Linked DNA regions of Homo sapiens: regions 1 and 2 are each linked to region 3. The links are contacts of gene promoters, found by promoter capture Hi-C in human tissues and cell types (Jung and others, 2019). All regions are on one chromosome and are shown on one strand. The core of a region is centred on a gene start or on the middle of the fragment in contact, and the rest is flanking DNA. Distances in the headings are between cores, read along the strand shown.

What was found. The method cuts DNA at HindIII sites, captures the fragments that hold promoters and counts their contacts. A contact is called where the count stands out against the background at its distance.
Region 1: a contact is called between a fragment that was not itself captured here and the fragment with the promoter of CELA1 in region 3, in 1 of the 25 tissues and cell types used here (spleen).
Region 2: a contact is called between a fragment that was not itself captured here and the fragment with the promoter of CELA1 in region 3, in 2 of the 25 tissues and cell types used here (heart right ventricle and pancreas).

Annotation. Positions count from the first base shown.
Region 1 is chr12:51,185,614-51,188,850 of GRCh38, reverse strand. POU6F1 (POU class 6 homeobox 1) reads left to right here. Exons shown (of 11, transcript NM_001330422.2): 11 at 1-1,915. Among named protein-coding and RNA genes, the nearest start is that of TFCP2, 14 kb to the right of the region's middle. RefSeq lists an enhancer at 1-15 and a silencer at 386-525. The HindIII fragment of the contact is 6,472 bases long and covers 1-3,237 here.
Region 2 is chr12:51,507,517-51,510,675 of GRCh38, reverse strand. It overlaps SLC4A8 (solute carrier family 4 member 8), which reads right to left. Exons shown (of 25, transcript NM_001039960.3): 25 at 1-3,159. Among named protein-coding and RNA genes, the nearest start is that of SCN8A, 82 kb to the left of the region's middle. The HindIII fragment of the contact is 4,227 bases long and covers 1-3,159 here.
Region 3 is chr12:51,345,105-51,348,186 of GRCh38, reverse strand. It overlaps CELA1 (chymotrypsin like elastase 1), which reads left to right and starts at 1,508. Exons shown (of 8, transcript NM_001971.6): 1 at 1,508-1,564; 2 at 2,310-2,392. The coding sequence starts at 1,549. The HindIII fragment of the contact is 7,595 bases long and covers 1-3,082 here.

The DNA of each region.
Region 1 (3,237 bases), core at 399-2,898, 160 kb after region 3:
AGATTATCCCTAAAGGGCCCCAAGTCACGGGGGTCAACCACCCCTGTCTTCAGTACTCTTATCCTTACAGAGGCTGGTCTCTAACAGCTGCCTCCAGTGGACCTCCCATGATCCACCCTGAGGGAAGGACCGTCAGCTGGGGACACATCACCACCTCTGTCAGTCACTGGTGCAGAGCCACCTCCTAGCCTAGCTTCCTCTGGTGTCCTGTTTCCTTTCCCACTTACTGTTGGTGCCTCCCAGGCCCTGCAGTGCCAGCGTGGCCACCCTCTTGGTAGCCTGGCCAGTAAGAGGAGGACAGTTGTGTGCTGAATTAGCACACGCACGTGCAGCGCGCACAGACGCGCGCACACACACACACATACACGCTCTGCTGCATTTGGACAAACCATGCCTGCCAGAGTGTAGCAGAGGTGAGGAAGCAGGTGGGCAGCTTGCCTGACCCAGCTTTTCAGGAGAGCGTGTCTCCAACAGAGAGTCTCCACACTCTAGTTCAGGGTTATCGACCTGCCTCAATGAGATGACAGACTCATTTGGGAGGGGTGTTGCAAACAAGTTTTCAGTGAGAATAGTTAAGTTCCAGAGCTTGTAAAGGATTCAGTGACTGACACTTCAGTAAATTAGGCCAGGCACATTGGCTTATGCCTGTAATTCCAACACTTTGGAAGGCCGAGGTGGGCGGATCATTTGAGGTCTGGAGTTCGAGACCAGCCTGACCAACATGGTGAAACCCCGTCTCTACTAAAAATACAAAAATTAGCCAGGTGTGGTAGTGCACATCTGTAATCCCAGCTACTTGGGAGGTGGAGGCAGGAGAATTGCTTGAACCCTGGAGGTTGCAATGAGCTGAGATCACACTACTTCACTCCAGCCTGGGTGACAGAGCAAGACTCGGTCTCAAACAAACAAAAACTTATGGCGATGCAGGTTTTCATGCTCAGACGCTTGCATTCAGGTATGCTTTCTTTTTTGAGAGAGACAAATGGGTCACAGCTGGCACCCTGGGAATAGCACATAATCCAGGGTGTGTCTGTGGTGGTGGACGTGCAGGGGAACACCATCTGTCCTGTGTCATGATGGGAAAACAATCATGAACCACTGGTCTAAATTAGGCCTGGCCATGCTTTCTCAGCCCCTCCCTCATTTAAATTTGTCTTCCCAAAGCTGAGCTAAAACTAAACCATTTCTCCTCTGCTGGAATGATGGATTGGTCATTCAGAGGAACAATACCAGGGGTGGGAGGTTTGCAGGCTGAGTTCCCCAGGCATGGGGGTGCAGGGTGTCCCTGAGGTTTACCCAAAGCACAGCTCGCTGGCCTGTGACCTCTGCCCTTCCTCCCACAGTGTAAGACCCCCCAGGAAGCAGCTGGGGCCTGAACCTCTCACCTAGGAGGTAGGTTTATTTTATTTTTTGTTAGCATCAGGCTCTGAAGGAGTTGGTATACATTTTGTTTTGAAAACATCTTCTGGACTTACACCAGAGCTTAGTGTCGTCTTTACTATGGAAAGAGAGGAGAATGGACAGAAATGGTTTAACTGTGTGGAGTTTTGTTTGTTTTGTTTTAAATGGAAGAAAGACCAAAACTTTCCTGGTGGATCAGCTAGGGCCTTTGACCCTGCATTACCACGGCATTTTATCCAGGTGAAGTCCAGGGAAAGAACTCAGCCAAATGGACTAAGGAACACACGAGTTTGGAATGCGAGACTCTGACATTTTTGTGTTCTTGGAAATCCAATTACCTTCCCATGCCCAGATTTCCTTCCTGCCTCTTGGACCAGGCTCTGGCACTGAGGTTCTCACTGTTCCCAACACAGACAAAGCTTCCTGAGGGCTGGAGGGGCAGCAAGGGGAGAGGAGAATGGGGAAGAAGCGCTTGATGTAGTTGTGTGGAATAAACAGTATTTTTTCTTTTGTACTGGTCTGCTTGTTTCCTGTTCACTCTTCAGGGTAGAAATATTAGTGAAACAGTGTCAGAGGACAGGGAAGTGACAGTCTTTGCTGTCAGCTTGCAGCCTGGAAAATCCCATTGCAAGAAAGCAGGGGTCAGTACTCTGGATTCCCATTTCAGAAGTCCCTGCTTGGGCCCTCCTGCCACCACGACCCTCCCATCACATTGGGGATTCAGTTCTAGAGACAGAAGGGCACAGGGTCTCCTTTTAGAACACCCTTCTTATACCTAGAGCCCCAGAATTCTCTGCCAAGCCCACTTCCTGGACCCCTCCTCTCTGGGTTCCAGGAGCTGTGCCGTTGGTGTGCACACTTGTAGGTCTAAGAGGTGGCTGCCTTAGTCTGCTCTGGTTGCTACAACAAAGTACCTTAGACTCAGTGCCTTACAGACAAGAGAAATTTATTGCTCACAGTTTTGGAGACTGGAAAGTCCAAGATCAAGGTCAAGATCAAGGTCGATGTCTGATAAGAGCCCTCTTCCTCATAAACAGGTATCTTTTCACTGTAACCTCACATGGTGGAAGGGCAAGCAAGCTCCCTTGGCCTCTTTTATAAGGGAGCTAATCCCATTAATCTTACTTGACTAATCACACCCCAAAAGGCCCCACCTTAATCTAGTCAGCCCTCCATATCCCTGGGGTCTGTGTCCTCAGATACAACCTCAGATGGAAAATACAATATTCAAAAACAACAACAGGCCGGGTGTGGTGGCTATTGCCTGTAATCCCAGCACTTTGGGAGGCCAAGGCAGGCGGATTGCCTGAGCTCAGGAGTTCGCAACCAGCTTGGGCAACATGGTAAAACCCCGTCTCTACTAAAAATCCAAAAATTAAACAGGTGTGGTGGTACATGCCTGTAATCCCAGCTATTTGGGAGGCTGAGGCACAAGAATTGCTTGAACCCAGGAGATGGAGGTTGCAGTGAGCCGAGATCGTACCACTGCACTCCAGCCTGGGTAACAGAGCAAGACTCTGCCTCCAAACAAACAAACAACCCAACCCCCCTAATACAACAGTAAAAAACAAAACAAACAAAAAATGTCAATATCGTATAACAACTATTTACATAGCATTTACATTATATTAGTAGGTATTATAAGTAACCCAGTGATAATTTTATGCAAGAGGATGTGCACAGGAGGTTATGTGGAAATACTACACTGTTTTTGGTGGGTTTTGTTTTGTTTCTAGAGACAGAGTCTCACTTGTTGGCCCAGGCTGGAGTGCAGTGGCGTGATCACAGCTCACTAGATTTCCCTGGCTCAAGTGATCCTCCCACCTCAGCCTCCCA
Region 2 (3,159 bases), core at 308-2,807, 160 kb before region 3:
GAAAGAGAGGGGACAAAGTTGAGTCTGATGTCAGTAGTGAACTGGCTGAAACACTAGATTGATCTTGCATCTTACAGACGGCAAGTTTGATACAGTGTACTTGGCCTTTGACACATTAGCAAGCATAATTGAGAAAAAATTCAAGATCCTTGATGGAAAGGTCGAGAAACTTCAAATTGATATATCATTCATGCATTCGAGAGCCATCAAGGAATACCTCCTATTGGGAAGTTTTTTTTTTTTTTTTTTTTTGAAATGGAGTCTTGCTCTGTCACCCAGGCTGGAGTGCAGTGGCATGATCTCGGCTCACTGCAAGCTCTGCCTCCCGCGTTCACGCCATTCTGCCTCAGCCTCCTGAATAGCTGGGACTACAGGCGCCCGCCACCATGCCCAGCTAATTTTTTTGTATTTTTAGTAGAGACGGGGTTTCACCACGTTAGCCAGGATGGTCTCGATCTCCTGACCTCGTGATCCGCCCATCTTGGCCTCCCAAAGTGCTGGGATTACAGGCGCGAGCCATTGCGCCCGGCCGGGAAGTTTTATCCTGCATCACTTGCAGGGATATCAGACCCTCCTCCAGCTGTCCTCGTACCAGCTGTGCAGGCTGCTGGAACCGCTGTTGGGACCTACAATCCCTAGAGTGACTGGTAATCACCATGCACAAAGGTGAACTGCAACTGTACGGAGGCAACCGAGCACCACACCCACAGAGCCAGGATCATCCAACCCATTCGCCCAACCCCAACCATCACCTCGTGGCAAAACCACCCAAATTCCTTCCCATCTTCACTCACAATCTTCCCCATGGAGTTCACCCCAACAACGCACCAAATCATATTTTTTTTAAAAAGTAGCTAACATTCCTAAGGCGCAGTGATCCAGGAGGGTCTAGCTCGAGAAGTACCCTAAAGTGCACAGGTGGTCCTGTACCTGCACTACACAGAGTTAATGAAGGCTCCTCCCCTCAAGCGGTCAAGGCAGCACAAGACATCCGTGTGTTAGGGGAGGCATTTTTCTGAGTGATACTCTCACCCAGTTTTGATACACTCCTTACAGCTGTGCTGAGGCTAGGGAAAGAGGTGAAATGGTCATCAACCTCCCCACACAGAGGTGGCAGGAAAAGATGGGAGGGGCAAGATAGAGCAAGAAAGGGGAGATGTTCTCAGGGAACAATGAAGATGAAAAAGTGGCAAGCTCAAGGAGGCAGCCAGAGAGGGACAAGGGAAAAGTCTGCAAGAAAGCTTATCCTCCAGATGGGCTGCCTTTTAATTCTTCCCAATTAGGTAGGTAAATGAGTACAATTACTACAGTTATCCTAAAGTGCTAAAATGTGAAGCTTTGGCTCATGAAGATTTTAATGCCCATATAGGTTCCAAGAAGCATGACCTATCCTGTCTGCACCATATATATATGAAAGGAAGCTAAGGCTGTGCCCAAAACAGCCTTGTGATAGAAATGAGACAAACCAGGAACAATACCCACGATTCAAAGGAACACCATTTTAATATCTGAAAGTAGCATAATGTTCAGCCAATAGGCATTGGTACAACCATACATACTGCTTGTTTACAGCAGGCATCCCTTCTGAGTGGCTGGCATCTGTCCTGTACCAGTTGTTAAAATATTTTGAAAATCATCTCTGTATTAAAATAATTGTGGCCCTATGAGATAGGGAATATGAAATAAATGAAGGATTCCTTTAACATCAAAGGTCTTTAGAGTAAGACTAGAATACATTAGTATATTTTAAAAGTCTAAGGAATGCAAAATTCAATAAAGTGATATAGCCAACCCTTCACCTAAGAAAGAAAAACACATCGGGGAACTTCCCACTGTACAAAGATTTTCCAGGATGGGAAACTAACATGATAGAATTATCTGGGTGCTAATGGGCTTGCTAGTTACATTCTGTGCACAAAGGAAGGAAAGGTTTATAAGCACTGGATCCCAAATACTTTACATTCATTGCAACATAGAAGAGAAGAGAAAAACTATAAATGTAGTTTTAAATTAAATACCAAAACTAATTTCACCACTTACAGTTCATTTCCCAGTGTGACTTTTTGCATCTGAGAGCCAGAATGTTTGTCAACCAAAAGAAATCCATGATGATGAAGAAACCACATGGCTGAAGGTGATTTTGGTCCATTGAACTGATGATCGTTTACTCTAAGGCAGCTAAGGAGACAGTACGTAAGCACTTGGATCTCGCCAGGATGGAATTGGAATGTATCCTCAAGAGACAGCAGCAAGAAGTCGAAGAGTCCCGCAAAATGGCCAATAAAAACATCATATCCTCCTTTCTATTCACAAACAACTATTATCAAATCTTTCCCAGATATCTAGAAAGCAGACACTATGACAAATCTTCAGGCTAGGAAGTTCTTCCTGGTATCTAAACTAATTCCTTCTGTTGCAATCTAAACTCAATCTCTTACTCTATCCTCAATGAAAACCAAGAGACACTGCTCATCCTCACTTACTGTTGATTTTCCCTGGATCCCTTTCCTATCTAAGCGACACAACTCAAATGTCCCTTCTTGGCTCTTGTATCATCCAAGATTCTTGCCAGTTATGCAGGCTGCTGCTAAGGAGTGATGGAGATGCACCCAGGTCAGAGGCATCTTCCTGGCTGTGGTGGCAGGCACTGCCAATGCCCAGATCATGGATCTTCCTGGTAGCTGACCTCCTGACAACCTCTGGGTCTGACCAGCATCCCCCAGGGGAGGTAATCAAACCAAGGCCCAGGGCTGCCTAGGAGCCTGTAGACACTAAGAGCACTGGAGAGCCAGAGAGGATGTCCTCTCTGTTCCCCTCCTACTCCCCACTCTGTCCTTTAGGAAGAGGGACCTCACTGAAGGACTCCTCAGTGGCAGAATGAATCCATATGGCTTGGCAGGCCAGCAGAGAATTTCAGAGAAAACGTCTGGAAAATGGGAAGCTAGGTCTTCAATGGTGGCCGTTCTAAAGAGAAAAAGAAGGAAGAGGAGAAGAACCAACAGGAGGTGGTCTTCTGCTTCCACATTCACATCTGGTGACTGGCTGCTGGTATGGGGATAGCTGGATGCCTTCCAATGCACACCAAGAATAACTGAATGCTTCGGCATGGCTTTGAGATGACCAAGGACAGGGCCAGACTTGGTCTTGCTTCTTCTCTGA
Region 3 (3,082 bases), core at 259-2,758:
AATTCCAAACCCCATGCGTTGCTACCATGACTGCTGCACCCACAGTCCTCTGCTCTGGAGCCTGCAGTGGCTCTGATCATTTTGTGGCCAACCCAAGGGTCCTCTGCCCACCTCAAGGCACATTGCAACTCTTTTCTCTCTCTATTTATTTATTTATTTATTTATTTATTTATTTATTTATTTATTTATTTTGAGACAGAGTCTTGCTCTGTCTCCAGGCTGGAGTGCAGCAACCTCCGCTTCCCAGGTTGAAGCGATTCTCCTGCCTCAGCCTCCAGATTAGCTGGGACTGCAGAAGCGCACCACCATGCCCAGCTAATTTTTGTATTTTGTTTTTGTTTTTTTTTAGATGGAGTCTCGCTCTGTCGCCCAGGTTGGAGTGCAGTGGCGCGATCTCGGCTCACTGCAAGCTCCGCCTCCCGGGCTCACGCCATTCTCCTGCCTGCGCCTCCCGAGGAGCTGGGACTACAGGCGCCTGCCACCACGCCCAGCTAATTTTTTGTATTTTTTTAGTAGAGACGGGGTTTCACTGTGTTAGCCAGAGTAGTCTCAATCTCCTGACCTCGTGATCCGCCCGCCTCCGACTCCCAAAGTGCTGGGATTACAGGCATGAGCCACCGCGCCCGGCCAATTTTTGTATTTTTAGTAGACGGGGTTTCGCCATGTTGGCCAGGATGGTCTCGATCTCTTGATCTTGTGATCCGCCCGCCTCAGCCTCCCAAAGTGCTGGGATTACAGGCGTAAACCACCGCGCCCGGCCGCAACTCCCTTCTCTCTCCTCTACGAACTGTGATGAACAAAGCCTTTCATCTCCTGCAGGAACCTCGGCTCCTACCCTCGTTCTCCCTCTGCCCTCCACCCTCCATCTACCCTCATAGCCCTCAGACTGTCTTCACATCCCAAGGATCCCCTCCTCTACCCTGCCTCATATTCTCCTCTGGGAGCCCCTTCTTGGCTCTCCATCTGAGAGGGCCCAAGCCTGTTTCTCAGTACTTTCCTCCCCCAGAATTATCTCCACTGCATCTATTTGGCTTTTGTGTCTGCATTTACACCTATGCCTGCATCCTGGGGGCATGTGCCATCTCCCTCTTTGGGCAGAGAGAGTTGCTGTGTCTTCCTTGCCCTTGCTAACCACTCCCCCCTCTTCCACTATCCCCCTGGCCTCCAGCTGCTAGTGCACAGGGCAAGTCTCTGCATTTATGGTGCCACTGAGGACAACGAGAGAGTGATGGATGACAAGGGGTGCTCCCTTAGAGAAAAACCAGCCCTGGTTCTCCATCTTATTTCTGAAAAAGAGTTTGTTGGATGCTTTTCAATTAAAAGCAGATGATTAATTCAGCCCTGGCCTTGTTCTGTCTTTGAATAACAGATACATTAGTTTACTTGAAAAGAAATATTTTCATTTGTATTTCCATGTCACTTGTGATTTTCCCTGCCTTGCACCCTCAGCCCTGCCAGTTGGCAAGAAGACAGTCAGCTTTGCTGCTAAGAGGAGTATAAAGAGGGCTTGGTCCAAGCAAGAAGGCAGTGGTCTACTCCATCGGCAACATGCTGGTCCTTTATGGTAAGTGGATATGGTCCAGTCGCAACCCTGGTCCTTTATGGTAAGTGGATCATGTGGCCTGAGGTCTATAGGGAGGGGGACTTGGGCAGGAAGGTCAGCAAATTTTCCCTAAGTCCAGGCCAGCACCCTGTCCCAGGGCAGGTGGGACGCTCTGCCTGCAGAGCGTCCTTTACTCTCCTGGAGGCCAAGATAGAAAAGGTCAGGGCCACTGGCTATTCAGGCCCCTCTGGGTGGCAGGTCCCTGGGCCACAAAGCAGAGAGAAGCCCCATCTGGTAGTGGGGTGGGTCCCTGGGCTTCCCCACCACCCCCATTGACAGGAGGACTTCCTCAGCAGGTGCCTGGCTGGGGTGTGCACTGCAGGCCCTGAACCCTGGAGAATCTTGCCAAAGCATTAGGGGGCTGGTGGGGGTCAAAGAGTGGGGGGGGGTCTCTTCAGGCCAAAGGGTGATCTTGAGCAAAGAGGAGACCACAAGGAGCCTCTGGGGCCTAGCCTGGTGGTTTGAGAGAGGTCCTTCATAGCATGCCGGAGTTCTGGGAACACCTGGGGGAAACAGAAGGCACCCAGGCACCCCTGTTTTCAAAAGGGGCTCAGAGAACTCACAGCTGGGCCCCTCATTCGTTAGAGAGGAACTGTGAATTTGCAGACAAGGCTAACATTCCTCAAAGCACAATCGCCACCCCCCACCCCTACCCCTGGCTGACCCCATGCTTAGTCATCACTCACTTTTCTTCTGCCCCACAAAGGACACAGCACCCAGGACCTTCCGGAAACCAATGCCCGCGTAGTCGGAGGGACTGAGGCCGGGAGGAATTCCTGGCCCTCTCAGGTGGGTGTTCCTTCCCAGCCCCAGACTTCCACCCAAATAAGAGCTCAGTGCATGACATAAGGTATCATGTGTATTTGTGCATGTCCCTATCAACAAGCAGCTCTCCAATTGTCTAGGTTCTCGATTTTAAAGATGGATGGGATCAGGCTTAGGTGGTTTTCTAAATGCAAAAGGCTTGGAGGAGGGGATTTATACACCAACCACAGTCCCTCTTCAAGGCACACACCCAAACACAAGATACATTTATATTCTCAGCGACAGCACTTGTGCCACGCAAGAAAGACTGGGTGCCAGACAGTCACCTTGGACTCCACATACCTTGAAACTCACACGCACACCACTCCACACTGTGTGTGTCACAATGCTTGCACGCATGTGCGCGCACACACACACACACACACGTACAGCATGCTGCTTAGTTGGCTATTTAGAGTTTCCACTTTGCTAACAGGGCAGCTGGGCCCTGATTTAAGTGATCTAAATATGTAAACCTGGCAAATTAACTGATGAAGATCCACACTTTGAGAAGATATCACTGCAATCAGAGTTTTAGCTTATAAAAGTCTGAGCCCCAGTTTTCAGGAGTAGAGCTATTACATAACATGAGGTGCTAGAAGAAGAGACATGAACTGATAAAAACAAACATCCTATTGGTATTTTTTTTTTTTTGAGATGGAGTTTTGCTCTCAT